2 separate regions of the Homo sapiens genome follow, and region 2 is linked to region 1. Evidence: promoter capture Hi-C in 16 types of primary human blood cells and fetal thymus (Javierre and others, 2016). All regions are on one chromosome and are shown on one strand. Each heading gives the region's core, a stretch centred on a gene start or on the middle of the fragment in contact. The rest is flanking DNA. Distances are from core to core; before and after follow the strand shown.

Region 1 (3,204 bases), core at 519-3,018:
ATCACACCATTGCACTCCAGCCTGTGTGACAGAGTGAGACTCCGTCTCAAAAAAAAAAATATGTACATATATGTATATATAATGTGTATGTTTATATGTGTATATATACTTATATGTATCTATATATGTGTATATATATTTATATGTATGTATATATGTATATATGTGCATATATGTATATATGTGTGTATATATATATATACACAGTAGGGTGGAAAACAAATATGTACATGTAAATTACCTATCACTGTCCAGTTGAAATTACTGAAACAATTATTGGTTGTTAACAGTTCTCTAGGCCTGGCATATGTTTCATAAAGAGAAGAGAACGAAAAAGATAATGTGTGGAAGAAACGTCTTCGATGTGGCCAATGAATCTTTTTTCAAAAACACTGATTTTTGCCTGTCATTCAGACAAATATAATAGGTAATAACTATATATTTTGTTAAAACTGTAGAAGCAACCTTTCCATATTCTAATTTATCGTAGGTTTACTTCGATATTTTTGTTGTTGGGCATCTGATTTCACATTGGAAAGTGCCTTGAGTTTAATTACAAGTCATGGTCATTTTTTTTCTTCTTTTTTTTGTTGAGACGGAGTCTGGCACTGCCCCCCCGCCTGGCTGTAGTGCAATGGCGCGGTCTCGGCTCACTGCAACCTCCGTCTCCCGGGTTCAAGTGATTCTCCTGCCTCAGCCCCCCGAGTAGCTGGGATTACAGGTGCCCGCCACCACACCCGGCTAATTTTTGTATTTTTAGTAGAGCCAGGGTTTCACTATGTTGGCCAGACTGGTCTCTAACTTCTGACCTGGCGGTCCACCCGCTTCGGCCTCCCAAAGTGCTGGTATTACAGGCATCAGCCACCGCGCCCGGCGTCATGGTCATTTTCTAGCCTACATTCTTTAGTTTCTCATCAGTAACAAGGGGTACATTGTATCTGTCTTCTAGGATCACTTTGCTAATTAAATGAAATGTAAATAAAACTAAAATATTTAAAATTAAATATCACCTAACACAGGACCTGCCTGACACATACTAAGTAGTTTATAAATGTTAATTCTGATATCCCTATTCCAAGTCTGTTTCATCTATAAATTATAAACTGTAAGAATAATTCTTACCTTAGTTCGCTGTGTAAAAAGCTTCAACAAATATTTGAGATATGATGCCAGAATTTGTGCTTAAATTTTTTATTTTTGCCAGCTTTTGAGGAGCTCAGAGCTTTCTTCCCCCCCTCCCCCCCCCACTTTGGACTCTTTGTCTAGAAACAGAGTTTTCTCTTTAATAAAGAAGTGAGATGTGGAAGTGCCTGCCAAATACATGTTTTCTTCTTGTTTTTGTAATGGGGAGATTACTTGACATCTTTGTAAAGGGATTGAGGGATCCTGTCGGCATGTCATCACAGGAGTGTGAAGAAGAATGTGACACAGATGTATCAGATTCTGCTCAATGGATTCCACGCTTTTCACGAAGGGAGTTAAGACACTCGCTCAAACCAGCGTCTAGGAAGCCGGCTCAAGGCGCAGATGAATGTGCAGGGAATTTCCCATCAATCCCTTCGGCTTGCCTAGTCCTTCTCACAGTACCTCCCACAGTGCTCCGGGGCTCCCTTGTCACGTGATCGGGGTGGATCCGCTGAGGCAGAGGGAAGTTGATTCGCAGTTTGGGTGGCTGGGGCTACTACGCTTTCCTTCCAACTCCCGACTCCCGGGCTTGCGTAATCTCGCGTTAAGTGGGGAGTAACTTCTCGCGAGAGCTAGATCGGGATCCCTCCAGGTCCGCCTCCGTGGTGAGGAGGAGGAGGAGGAGGAGGCGGAGGTGGAGGGAGGAGGAGGAGGCCCCGTCGCGGCCTTCGCCGCCGCCAACGGGGCTGTCCCTGTAGCTCCCGATGGAGTTTGAGGTCGTGAAACCTCCGCCGAGCTCTGCCCCGGCGAGACGAGGCGCCTCCGTCGCCAAGCCGCGCCGTCGCGGGGCTCCCGGGAGCGGCCCTTAGCGACCCCGCCCGGGCCCCCTCAGGTAGGGCGGGGGCGGGCACGATGCGGCTCGGGCCCCAGCCCGGGTGCCTGGTCCCCGGCGGTCGGGCGGGAGACCAGTCTCAGCCCTGGGGCCTGTGCGCTGTCGCCCCTGGTGCCTCGAGGGTTGGGAACTGAGGGCCGCACCTGACACTCGGATGGAACCCGGGCCCTGCGGAGGCCCCTCTCTCTGGTAGGGCTTTTTCGATGCGGAGCGACCGGCTCAAATGGCCACCTTCCTTCGACACTGGCCGAGCGGACGCCTCTGACCCCTAACGAACCCACCCAAGCAAAGGCCCGGCTTCACTCTCCCTTTTCTACACCAGTTAGTAAGGGGGTTTGGAAGAGGTCCTCGAAACCAAGTCTTCTCCTAGCTTTTCAGCTTTCTGCCCTGGGGCTTCCCGAGACCCTAGCGTAGAGGGTGGTGGAGGCGATCTGAGTGGTAAATAGGAACCCCGGCCAAACAATGCCCTGGGAGGGCTTAACCTCCCAGGATGGGGACGGCCGGACCTGAGTGGTTGCACAGGGGTTGTGGCTAGGAGCAATGGCATGAAACACAGCCAGGAAATTCTGCTATGGCTTTCTTCTTTCCCTCTCTCATTTTTCCTTTTTGGTGTAGCCTCTTGAGGAGACTCTTCCACCATCTTAGAAGAATGGTAGAAAGCATCTTTGTTTCCCAGAGAAGCAGCTGTACTTTTTTCTATCCTTAGCTTTCAGGATGGGAGAAGATGAGGGTAGCTGTCATTTCCATCCTTCAAATCCCAAGGCAGCCGTTTAAGATACCGGCAGATAAATCCTTCACACCAAAATTGACTCAAGTAATCACTGGCATAAAGTAAATCTAATCCAGTGATTTATTTATATTTTCATAACCCTTGGGTTCCCTTTTTAATTCCTCCTCTCCCCTTACCCACGGCCTTCCTTTTTTTCATTTCTACTCTCCCCCTACCCATTGTGGGTGGGTGAGTTTGTATCCCAAATAAAGTGCTTTAAGTAATCTTTTTTCCAATTTTGTATTGGCCAAACTTTTAAGTTCCAGTAGGAACTTTTGGTTAACCTGAGAAAGCTAACGTTGCTATACCACAGTGGTATAAAGTCACTCAAAAGCAAAGAAACAAATGTTAGCCAGTGCAGCCTTTTAATGGTTAAACATACAAACTTAGTTAAAAGCTTTTTACGATATTAAGAATA
Region 2 (3,204 bases), core at 421-2,920, 130 kb before region 1:
TAAAACTTCTGCTCTGAGCCAGGTCCTAGGTCAGATTGTGGGGATAAAGATATTAACCAGACAGATAAGAGACACTGTCCCTTGCCTTCAGAGAGTTTGATGACAAGTGAAGGAAGTAAATCAAAGCAATTTTATGTTGAATTCAAGGCTACTGTCATTTTAGGAGGATGAGCATTTATTTTGCTTCTCTTCTCAAGTCTGGGATTGCTAAGTAGCACAGAGTAGTGGTGTAGCATTGAGCTTCAAAGATCAAAGTGTGGGGGAACACATCATGATGTATGGCTTCCTTACATGTAGAAGAATGGCAGATACAAATAACAGTAATGATTTTTATTTGCAAAGCACTTTACAATTTACAAAGTACTTTCACATCTATTATCTAACGCAAGCCCCAAACTAACCCTATGAGGTATGAAGGGATCAATATTTCCTTCTAGGAGAAATTAAGCATTTAGAGAAGTGACTTGCCCTCATTTACAAAACTACTTAATTAGAAACAGAAGCCTACATTTTTTTATTCTCAGTTCCAACTTCATTTTTACTATATGATGCCCTTTTGTCATGCAAATTTTGAAGAAAGGCCAAATGACTCGTTTACAGCCATAAGAAATGTCTACAATATTTCCAAGGTCTGCAACATAATATTAATAATATATAAATTTAATATAAATACTTAATATTTTTTTCTTCAACCTGAAATGAAAAAAATTACACAAAAGTCAACACACAAAATGATTTATGAGGACTTCAAAAAATCTCAATGCCACAGTTTTCCCATTCTTAAATTTCCCAAAATTTGCTCATGTAACAATACATTTTGGCTTGCTGGTAATTTCACCAACAACTATGAAACAAAAACATACTCAGTGAAATTAAAACAATTCCTATACCAAGTCAACATGCAGATTTTTCAAACAAACCTGAAAAGCTGAGGAAACCCTCCTAGAAACCACTCCACCATCTGGGCCATCTGGGAGTCTAACCCTGCTGCTTCATTTTCAAGTTCAAGGAGGTGGGCAATGCATTTACGGTAAAAAAAAATTCAAGTTTTCCCAATCCTTAAAATACTGAGACCATTATTCAAGTAAAAAGTAAAAGCCATTATAAAAGGCTTGAAAAGAATTTATCCAGCAATAAAGCTTAAAGAAAACCTTTTCCAAAATGGAATTTTGAGTAAGAGTCAATAGGCCCGTGAAAAAAACGCAAATATCCAATCTAGTGTCAGGATAATGCTCTCACTAAAGTTGAGCACACTAGTCCATTTGTAATTGCTTTTCTACTCTAAGAAGGGGGAAAAAACCACTTTCACTGAAATCACTGCATTAAAAAATACAACTAGTTTACAAATATAACATCAGTATAATCCTACTTTAAAATTTACTATGAAATAATTTCAACATAATCACCAAAAGTATATGTTTCCTCTGATACCAGTCACATGCCATATAAAGTTAAATGAGCTATCCCGCCAACGCCATGGTAACTGAATCTAAAAATACATTTTTTTTGAAGTCAGACTGGTATTTAAACTAAATGTCATCAAATGTTGCATTAAATATGCCAGGATGAAAAGTTCAGTTAAACATGAACTTTCCAAATATATCACACAGAAAACACCCCCAGCCACTAAAGGGGACACTACTGTGTCCAGGAGCATCTCCTCTCTCCCAACACATACACACACAACAAAATAAGATCAAACCTGCTGATTTAATATCAATTTTTCAACAAAAATTAAGTGTTTAAAATTGCCATATTTTCTAAACTAAAAATTCATAAGCAAACTGCAAATGTGAACAGGTTACATTCTCTAACATGTATGAAAAAAGGTAAATTTTGGTTTTTTAGATCTGTACCACTTAAAGGGAAAATGTATACAATACAACCATTTTTCAGAATCTAACAGAAAAGGTTTCCCATTTGAAATGGCAATTTAACCAAGCCATTTCTAACATAACTTGCAATTTCAGTATGAGTTCTAAATTTTGAAGCAGCTTAGAATAAAATTTGCTAACACTAAACATAAAGAGCAAGCAAGGTTTTGGGAAAAACCCAGAATCTGAAGTTTGAATGTTTATGTAATGCTTAGTCACTTAAAATAAAAAAGTTTAAATAGAACACAACTGAGGTTAAAATCAAGTTGATGTCTAAAGCCTAAAATCATAAGAACACTGGCATCATGATGGAAAACCAAAGCTTATCTGCCTGCTTTATAAATATCCATGTCCTTTCTTGGATTCAGAAATCCACTTTAACCCATGTCCCCTGGGTTTCTTCCATCTTCCATCTCACTGAACACCACTGTCGCATTCAGATTACAACCTCTAGCCAAAGGCAGAGATCAAGTAAGTCCCTTGAAGACTTCCAGAACATTTCCAGAACAGCAGAAAAGTAGAGGAAATACTCTCGTGCCTGGAGCTGCCGGAATTCCTTCTCTCCTTTTAGAAAAATAAACCTCTTGCTCTAAAGATAATCACTTTTAAGAACAAACATCACTACTACATACAAACACACATAACTCTCAATAATAATTCTATAGAAGAATTATAAAATCCTATAGGTTTTTCTAGTACTTTGGCAGGAAAAAAAAAAAAGACCATTAAGAACTGTATGCCAAAGGATTTTTTTTCCAGAGAGAAAATAGCAATAAGAGACTTAAGTGTTTTCCCTTCTCCTCTTCAAATGTGGATTCCTTAGCACTAACTGAAAGAATACTTTTCAAAAATAACTAGTTGATTCCATTTAACCACAAAGAAAATGTCTCAACTACCTTGTATTTTAAAAAAACAATCTGTATACTACGGTATACTTTCTGACTCAGTTGCTTATGACCGACACCCTTCTCCCTGATGTTCTAATATTTCAGAAGTCTTTGAATAGAAAGAACAGACAATATTAAAGACACATTTTTGTATATAGTCACCATTATAAAATGGACAGCCAACAGCCTATCACTGAATTACTTTTTAGCTTAAGCACATTTTGCTGTAAAAGAGAAATCTAACAATTCAGATATTCTAAATATAGACATAACACAAAGGCATGGGCAAAAGTACTACACGATTACTTCTACGCACACATATCTTTAGATCTCTGTGAAGCATGGCACAAAAAGTAGCTCAGTTTTTCATAAATTGTATAATTTGATTGCACTTTTGCTTCATGGTTCACTGTAAAATTCTAAAATTAATGTTTATGTGTTCA

What was found. Contacts are between HindIII fragments. The CHiCAGO score rates a contact against its expected background, and 5 or more counts as called.
Region 2: a contact is called between a fragment that was not itself captured here and the fragment with the promoter of RC3H2 in region 1, in 1 of 17 cell types (megakaryocytes). The highest score is 5.5, in megakaryocytes.

The regions. Positions count from the first base shown.
Region 1 is chr9:122,903,923-122,907,126 of GRCh38, reverse strand. RC3H2 (ring finger and CCCH-type domains 2) reads left to right here and starts at 1,768. Exons shown (of 21, transcript NM_001100588.3): 1 at 1,768-2,017. RefSeq lists a silencer at 1,664-2,313. The HindIII fragment of the contact is 2,040 bases long and covers 1,146-3,185 here.
Region 2 is chr9:123,036,207-123,039,410 of GRCh38, reverse strand. The region is part of intron 13 of RABGAP1 (RAB GTPase activating protein 1); the gene reads right to left. It also overlaps a transcript of GPR21 not described here. Among named protein-coding and RNA genes, the nearest start is that of GPR21, 4.1 kb to the right of the region's middle. The HindIII fragment of the contact is 1,057 bases long and covers 1,142-2,198 here.